Regions from separate parts of the Homo sapiens genome. Here region 2 is linked to region 1. Evidence: promoter capture Hi-C in human tissues and cell types (Jung and others, 2019). All regions are on one chromosome and are shown on one strand. The core of a region is centred on a gene start or on the middle of the fragment in contact, and the rest is flanking DNA. Distances in the headings are between cores, read along the strand shown. Region 1 holds the start of GALR3 (galanin receptor 3). Region 2 holds the start of SOX10 (SRY-box transcription factor 10).

Region 1 (4,214 bases), core at 1,279-3,778:
GCTCACTGCAACCACCACCTCCCAGGTTCAAGCGATTCTCGTGCCTCAGCCTCCTGAGTAGCTGGGATTATAGGTGTGAGCCACCATGCCCAGCTAATTTTTGTATTTTTAGTAGAGGCAGGGTTTTGCCATGTTGGCCAGTCTGGTCTCGAACTCTTGACCTCAGATGATCCGCCCACCTCAGCCTCCCAAAGTGCTAGGATTACAGGTGTGAGCCGCTGCGCCTGGCCCATAACAAACTTTTTACAAAAGATAATGTGGGGGGAAAAAAAGAAAGAAAGAAAGAAAATGTGCGGGTCATGTCTCTGCTGTAGAATCTTAGTAGTTCCCCGTTGCTATCAGGTAAAGCCAGACTTTTTGGACAGGTACCTAAACCATCTGGGCTCCAGCTGGACTAAGGCTCTGGAAAGAGCTTCCGGAGAAGGATCTCAGGATTTGCAGAGCCTGAGGGAGGAGTCTCTGGAGTCTGCCGAAAGGAGACTCAAGTCCTGGTTTCCCACTCCAGGAAACCCCAGTCAAGACTAGGAATCCTTTTTTTTTTTTTTTTTTTTTTTTTTTTTGAGACGGAATCTCGCTCTGTCGCCCAGGCTGGAGTGCAGTGGCACGATCTTGGCTCACTGCAACCTCCAACCCCTGGCTTCAAGCAATTCTCTGCCTCAGCCTCCCGAGCAGCTGGGATTACAGGTGCCCGCCACCACACCCAGCTAATTTTTGTATTTTTAGTAGACATGGGGTTTCATCATCTTGGCCAGGCTGGTCTTGAACTCCTGACCTCATGATCCACCTGTCTTGGCCTCCCAAAGTGCTGGGATTACAGGCATGAGCCACCGCGCCCAGCCTCTTCTTTTTTTTTTTTTTTTTTTTTTTGAGACAATGTCTCACTCCATCACCTGGGCTGGAGTGCAGTGGCGTCATCTCGGCTCATTGCAACCTCCACCTCCCAGGTTCAAGCGATTCTCCTGCCTCAGCCTCCAGAGTAGCTGGGATTACAGGCGCCCGCCACGACGCTCAGTTAATTTTTGTATTTTTAGTAGAGACAAGGTTTCGCCACATTGGCCAGGCTGGTCTCGAATTCCTGGCCTCAAGTGATCTGCCTGCCTCAGCCTCCCAAAGTGCTGGGATTACAGACGTGAGCCACCATGCCCGGCCTAGGAACCTTTTCTAAACATGGATTGGAGCAAGAAGGTGCAGGGATAGGGGATGGAGTCACATCAGGCTGGGCCACAGGAGGTGGGAGTGCCAGAGACTGGCTGGGCCCTGGGCACAGAGGGGTTAACTACAAAGCAAATCACAGAGAGCGAGATCAATGGGTTACTGGCTGCAGAGAGAGGAAAAGGCAGCAGCAACGCAGAGAGGCAGAGAAGAGCCAGGCAGAAGAGCCTGCCACCTGGGGGAAATCAGGGACTGAGGAGGAAGTGGCCAGTGGCTACTCCAGAGGGAGTGCCCAACTCCGGCTCAGCAGAGGGGGCAGAGGAGAGGAGGGGCCTTAAAGGCAAAGGGGGAGAAGTAGAAGGCAGACCAGTACCTGCAGGGAGGCACCAAGGGGCAGCCGCTGAATCAGGAGGCCCACCCAGCCCGGCCATTCCACCCAGGATCAAGCCCACTGCCCAAGGCGGAGGTGGGTGTTGCCCATCCTGGGCTTTGGGGACCTACTGCATGCTGGGTGCTGGGATGGGGGCAGACATTGCCTTTCTTCCCTACTCCCTGCCTGACCCCCCTTTCCCCTACTTTGTCCCACCACCCCAGTGGTCTCAAGCCTGCAAGGAGATCCACAGGCAGTAGGAGACATGGGCTGTAGAGTGGGATGGGGGTGAGCATGGGTGCGGTGTGCACACACACAAGTTGTCAGAGGCACCACCTGTTACAAGCTCTCAGATGAGCACTCTAGCTTAAGAGGCAGGATACCAGGGTGGCAACAGCCCCAGAGCTGCCATTTCGAGTGTGATATTATCCTCCCATGTCCCCTCTCTGGGCCTCAATTTCCCTATGTGCAGAGAGGAAGCAGTGACCTACACGGTCTTCCCAGTTTTGCCATTGTGATGATCTCACTATACTGGACCCTCCAATGACTCAGGGATGTTACCCGTGTTTTGCTAAGGCTACAGCTTGTAGCCAGAGAAAGCCCTAAACCCATGTCCCAGGGTCTCCCCTGAGCTTCAGATCCCCATTGAGAAGGAAAACATACCAGTTTCTGGGTTTGGCCCCTCCCCCCATCGCCATATCTTCATCCTACTTCGCTTGTGCCTTCCCCAGCCTCGTGGGTTGAAAGTGTCCCTCAAATACCTAGGTAGTCCTCCAGGCAGGACTCCAGGGGTGTTCCTTAGGAAACTGAGGAACTCTCACCCCTTGAACACCACGAGCTTGCTCACACAGTGACACTCAGCGATGACTTTGGCTCTGCTCTCCCCTCCTCCATCTCCCACGAGCTTCCAGCCCAGAACACCTGGCCAGACCCAGGTCGGGGGAGTTAGATCCCGGGGTCAAGCAACCAGAACTGGGGGCTCTTGCCTGAGGATTCCAGCTTCTCTTCCCAGGTGCCCGTCTGATGGGGAGATGGCTGATGCCCAGAACATTTCACTGGACAGCCCAGGGAGTGTGGGGGCCGTGGCAGTGCCTGTGGTCTTTGCCCTAATCTTCCTGCTGGGCACAGTGGGCAATGGGCTGGTGCTGGCAGTGCTCCTGCAGCCTGGCCCGAGTGCCTGGCAGGAGCCTGGCAGCACCACGGACCTGTTCATCCTCAACCTGGCGGTGGCTGACCTCTGCTTCATCCTGTGCTGCGTGCCCTTCCAGGCCACCATCTACACGCTGGATGCCTGGCTCTTTGGGGCCCTCGTCTGCAAGGCCGTGCACCTGCTCATCTACCTCACCATGTACGCCAGCAGCTTTACGCTGGCTGCTGTCTCCGTGGACAGGTGCGCTGTGCCTGGGGCCTGGCTGGGCAGGGCTGTGGGGGCGGGGGTTGGGGGAGGAGTCCTGAACAGATCCTCACTGGCCTTAGGAAGGAGAGAGTGGGGGACCAGAAAGGGAGGTGGGTGGGAGGAAACAAAAGCTCCCTGACCCCTCGCAAGCAGCCTCTGGGCACCTGCAGGGCGTGCTTGAGGGGACTGTCCTGCCCTTCCCCTCCTCCACTGTGAACTTCCAGAGGACGCCTCTGAGTCTCAAGTGGCAGCACAGGGTCTGGCACATAGTAAGTGCTCTGTAAGCGCGAAATGAATCGCAAAAGAAGCTCACGAATGCGTTCATCAGTTTTTTTGTTTTGTTTTGTTTTGTTGTTTTTTTTTTTTGGATCTTGGCTCACTGCAACCTCTGCCTCCTGGGTTCCAGCGATTCTCCTGCCACAGCCTCCTGAGTAGCTGGGATTACAGGCCACCACACCTGGCTAATTTTTTGTATTTTTAGTAGAAACGGGGTTTTGCCATGTTGGACAGGCTGGTCTCGAACCCCTGACCTCAAGTGATCCGCCCGCCTCGGCCTCCCAAGTGCTGGGATTACAGGCGTGAGCCACCGCGCCCAGCCCAGCTATTTTCTAACTGCCCACACCTGGCCAAGCTGTGCACACATCTGCTTCCACAGCTTGAAACTTGGGGTCAAATCCAGGCTCACTCCAGCTGATGACCCTGGGCAAGTCACTTCTCTCTGGACCTCATCTGACGCATCCATAAAATAATCCTAGAAATAACAAGTCACCGGGATCGGGCCCTTGCTAGGTGCAAGGGCCTAAGCACCTTGCGCGTTCACACCCTTAATCCCCGCCACGTCCCCCACGGTTCACAGGAGGCGCACTGGGCCGCAGGGCCCGGGCGCGGGACGTGGCGCGGGCCCCTGCGGGAGGGCACCTGCCCGCCCCGCTGACCAGGCGCCCTCCGCAGGTACCTGGCCGTGCGGCACCCGCTGCGCTCGCGCGCCCTGCGCACGCCGCGTAACGCCCGCGCCGCAGTGGGGCTGGTGTGGCTGCTGGCGGCGCTCTTCTCGGCGCCCTACCTCAGCTACTACGGCACCGTGCGCTACGGCGCGCTGGAGCTCTGCGTGCCCGCCTGGGAGGACGCGCGCCGCCGCGCCCTGGACGTGGCCACCTTCGCTGCCGGCTACCTGCTGCCCGTGGCTGTGGTGAGCCTGGCCTACGGGCGCACGCTGCGCTTCCTGTGGGCCGCCGTGGGTCCCGCGGGCGCGGCGGCGGCCGAGGCGCGGCGGAGGGCGACGGGCCGCGCGGGGCG
Region 2 (4,214 bases), core at 486-2,985, 160 kb after region 1:
ATGAGGTCCCGCAGCAGCAGATTTGTCCCGCAGTTCTTCATCCCTCACTCTTCCAAAGACTCTCATCTGAATTCCGTTTTCTTTAAACCTCCCCTGAGTTCTCCATCTGACTGCCTCAGTTTCCCTGAATCTCCAGCCAACCCTTTGGTTCTTTCCAAGCGTTTCCCTCGTATCCTCCTGACCACAGCAGCTGGTGGCATAGTGTGCGTATCTGTGGGCAGGAGTTAGTGAAGGCCTCCTTCCCTCCCTCCAAAGCCCCAGGCCCCACGGTCTGCCACCCGCAAAATTCCAACCACGAGGGGGCGCCTTCCTGCCCGCCGCCCCGTAGGGAGACCCGGCCTAGGCCGCTGGAGTTCCGAGTTCCAGGGTCCTTGTGATGGAAGGGCGGGCGCGGCCCCCACACCTGGTCTTCCAGCCCTATCCAAGGAGGACTGCCAGACAGTCCCGCTCTGAGGTGCAGGAGGCCGGGCCGCCTCGGCTACCCTGAATCCACCCGAAGCTAGAGGGCCCGAGCCCGGGGGGCGGTCGGGTGCTCACCTCCAGAGCTTGCCCAGCGTCTTGCTGAGCTCAGCGTTGTGCAGGTGCGGGTACTGGTCCGCGAGCTTCCTGCGCGCTGCCTGAGCCCACACCATGAAGGCGTTCATGGGCCGCTTGACGTGCGGCTTGCTTTTGCTGGCGCCGTTGACGCGCACGGGCATGGGCACCAGCGTCCAGTCGTAGCCGCTGAGCACCTGGCTGACGGCCTCGCGGATGCACACGGGGAACTTGTCATCGTCCGCCTCGCCGTCCTGCTGCTCCTTCTTGACCTTGCCCAGCTCGCCTGGCCCCGGGCTGGCTCGCAGGCCCGATCCGCCGCCGCCGCCGTCGGGCCCTAGCGAGGGCGCGCTCCCCGGGGACAGGCAGCGGGGCTCCTCCGAGCCCACGGGGCTCAGCTCCACCTCCGATAGGTCCTGCTCCTCCGCCATGTCGCCCCCGGCCGCCGCCGCCGCCGCCTCGGCCGCCTCCCCCGGGCCAGCCGCCGGGGTCCTCGCAAAGAGTCCAACGCCCACCTGGATGGAAGGAGGGCGCGATGGAGCGGCCGCGCGCGCAGCCCCGAGGGCGGCCCGAGACAGGACGTGGGCACAGCCCCGAGGTGGCGGCCCTTCCTGCTCCAGCTAAACCCATCTGGCCCCTGGGGCCCACGCACATGCCAGACTCTAGGTGGGTGCGTCCCGCCTCTGTGTCTTCCCACCACCTGGTCCCAACCGTCTCTTGGTGTGGGTGGCTTTTTTTTTAGCCTCCTTTTTTGGGTGGAGGTTTGTTGATGATAAGGAAGAAAAAAACGGAGCCTTTATTTTGCTCTAATCCCGGCCCCTGGAATTTCCCACCTTTTCTCTCACCTTTCCTTCTTCCCTCAGCCTGCCCCAACGGGGTTTAGAGGAGAGCCAGGTGGGGGGCAAGGGCGGGGTGTCGCCTCTCTCCACCTCACAGCAGGGTCCCAGGCCTGGGCGGGCCAGGGAGGAGCAGGCTGCGCACTCACCTCCTCGGACCTCTCCTCCAGTCTGGGGCTCGTCCTTAGGAAGTGGAAAACCGTGTCCCAAGGTGTGCGGTCCAGCTCGGGGCTGGGAGGTGACGCTGGTGGGCTGGGAGGGAGGGGCGGGGGGCCCTGAGCCTCAGGCCACGGCCTCGTTAGGACGGAGCCTGAATCCTTACCACCAACCACCCTGGCCGGACAGCCCGAGACTGACTGAGCGACTGAGCCTGAGCCGCTGCGGAGGGCTGGGGAAGGAAGGAGGGGGAGAGGGGGGAGGGGAGAGGAGGGAGGGAAGGGCAGAAGGTGGAGCCTCCAGGCTTTCCTTCATCCCCAACACTCAGGGCTCCTCCACCCGGAGCCCAGGCCCCCCCACCCAGCTCCCTGCCCTACTGCCCAGGCCCATCTTGCTGAGGCTTATCTTGGGCTTAGTCTGGGAGGTGGAGGGGAGGTTAGGCCGAGGAAGGAAGAGATGTAGGCTGGAGGGTCAGAACCTGTTGGATGGAAGAAAATTGGGCCCAACCAGGACTCCTAACGTCTGCCTCAGGTGGCAGGATGGGCACTTGGCAGGGGACTAGGGAGAGACGTGAAGGCGGTGAGGGTCCTGGGGGCCCGTGAGGGTGGCTGGCCCTAGCTGCTTCGTCTGCGAAATCCTGTTGAGTGCCTAGTGTGTGCCAGGCACTGATGCCCAGCTCCTCACCCTGCCTCCTACCTTTTCCCAGGCAGCCCTTTCTGCCCCATCCTGCACAGTAAGAGAGACTTCTCAGGGATCCCTCTGAGAAGTGCAGAGCCCCAGCTTGACCCCTGGTCCCTTCTCTGCAGACACCCAGCACACGCGCGTTCTGGTCTGGTTCAAGGTGGAAACACAAGACTAAAGCTGCCAGGAGGCCAAGGTGGGACAGGTTGGGGGCCCTCTCTCAGTAGGTCTTAGAGGCATTTTGGGTTGCTACCTACTGGGACCCAGCTCCTTCCACACTGGGCTCACCCTGTCTTGGGAGAGGGTAGGGGAGTCCTAGTCCTGATTGTCACGAAGTCCTCTACTCCCCCACCCCAACAAGGGGTGGGGACTTGCCCTGCCTCTTCCCTCCTCTGCCCACCTCTCCCTCCCTCCCCTTTTCTTTCCTGCCCATCCTCCGTTGACACCTTTTTCTCTCTCTTTCCTTGGCCTCTCCTCCAAAGGTCGCAGTGCTGTTCTCTTAACTGAGGGCAGCCCCGCCGGGGTGTTGAGGCCGAGGTGGGGTGTATGTGGGTTATGTAATGGAGCTGGGGTCGCATTGGCAACCATGTGACGTTCTGAGCTCCTCAACAGCAGGGCAAAGCCCCAAGACCACCCCAAGGGGTCCTGTCTGGAGTGGGCTGCAAAGGGTCTGGGGAGGCAAGGCCTCATGCTTGGGAAAGTCCAAAGGGGTGTAGGGGGTGGGAAATGGGACACAATGAGGTAGTCACACGAGGCAGAGGCATGTTGGGGGTGGGGGGAGCAGACACTGGAACACACACACACACACACACACACACACACACACATGCTCACACACACAACCAGCCAGACAATCGGGCCAGTGTGTCTGGGGCCTCGGAGCCCAGTGAATTAGGAGTTTGATAAGGGTTTTCTCTTTCTCTCGCTTGCTGGCCTTGGACAATCTCCCCCCAGTTTTCCTCGACGCCACCCCCGGCGCTGCCAACCCTCCTCCCCCCGCCTCCCTTCTCTTCCCTGTGCCCAGACTCTTGTTCGGGGCCTTGAAACAGTGAGCTGTCTTTGTTCGAAATACAGGTGAACGGCAATCATGTGATTAACACACACACACATAAAAAGCTTTTTAACAGCGCCCGCTCGGCCTCAGAACCGCCCGGAGAGGAGCCGCCCTGGATGGACAGAGGGACGAGGGACGAGCATCTGCCGTCGTGTCCCGGCTGCCCTGCAGTCGCCTCCAACACCCGCTGCTGCCCGCCCGCTGCCTGCCTGCCTGGCATCTCTCTCTCCCGGTGGGTCCCCACTCATCCTTCCACCCCTCAGTTCCTCCTCTTTGAGGAAAGGACCTCCCCGCTCTCTGCTGTGTCTGTGACTGGCCTGAGACCCGCCTGGGGCAGGAGGGGTGGTTGTGGAAGGAAAGAGCCCAGAGTTAGGAGGTGGAATGTGGGGTCCCACAGCTGCCCCCTCTCTAACTCCCTGCTTCCTCCTTTGCCCTCCTTGGTCCAGCTGTGCCAGGATGGGGGTGGGGGTAGCAGTGGGCACGCTCTGTCTGCAGGAAGCCACGCTAGACAGAAGGGGCCACTCCCTCTCTCTCTCCCTTGTCCCCGCACAGACACTGCCTTCCTCTCAGGGCTGTGCTGGGCTTTTTGCTGAGCAGTGTTGGGTGAGGCAGGTGGGCCTGCAGGGCGGGTGGGAAGGGCTGTCAGATGACCAGTGCTGTGTGTGTGTGGTTGGGGCCCCTGCTGCGAACACATCCCTGCCCACCATGCTGGCAACTGGGATCCCCTCCATCCCATCCCAGGCCCTGGGAACCCAGTGCTCTCCAGCAGGCAAGGGTGAAGGACCCATAGTCATTCCTGAAGAGCAGGGAGCTTGGAGAGGGGAGGGATCCTGGCTGAAGACACCTGGGCCTCTGCCCCAGCAGGACAACAGGAGGGCCAGTGTCACCTTCTCCTCCTTTCCCTGCTGGGGGTGGCAGGGGTCCCTTTACCCCCTCATTCTTGACCCTTCTCC

What was found. The method cuts DNA at HindIII sites, captures the fragments that hold promoters and counts their contacts. A contact is called where the count stands out against the background at its distance.
Region 2: the fragment with the promoter of SOX10 here is called in contact with the fragment with the promoter of GALR3 in region 1 in 2 of the 25 tissues and cell types used here (adrenal gland and dorsolateral prefrontal cortex).

The regions. Positions count from the first base shown.
Region 1 is chr22:37,820,854-37,825,067 of GRCh38, forward strand. GALR3 (galanin receptor 3) reads left to right here and starts at 2,529. Exons shown (of 2, transcript NM_003614.2): 1 at 2,529-2,912; 2 at 3,870-4,214. The coding sequence starts at 2,554. The HindIII fragment of the contact is 28,947 bases long and covers 1-4,214 here.
Region 2 is chr22:37,982,820-37,987,033 of GRCh38, forward strand. It overlaps SOX10 (SRY-box transcription factor 10), which reads right to left and starts at 1,736. Exons shown (of 4, transcript NM_006941.4): 1 at 1,520-1,736; 2 at 538-1,049. The coding sequence starts at 965. It also overlaps a transcript of POLR2F not described here. RefSeq lists enhancers at 5-842, 2,797-3,631. The HindIII fragment of the contact is 28,697 bases long and covers 1-4,214 here.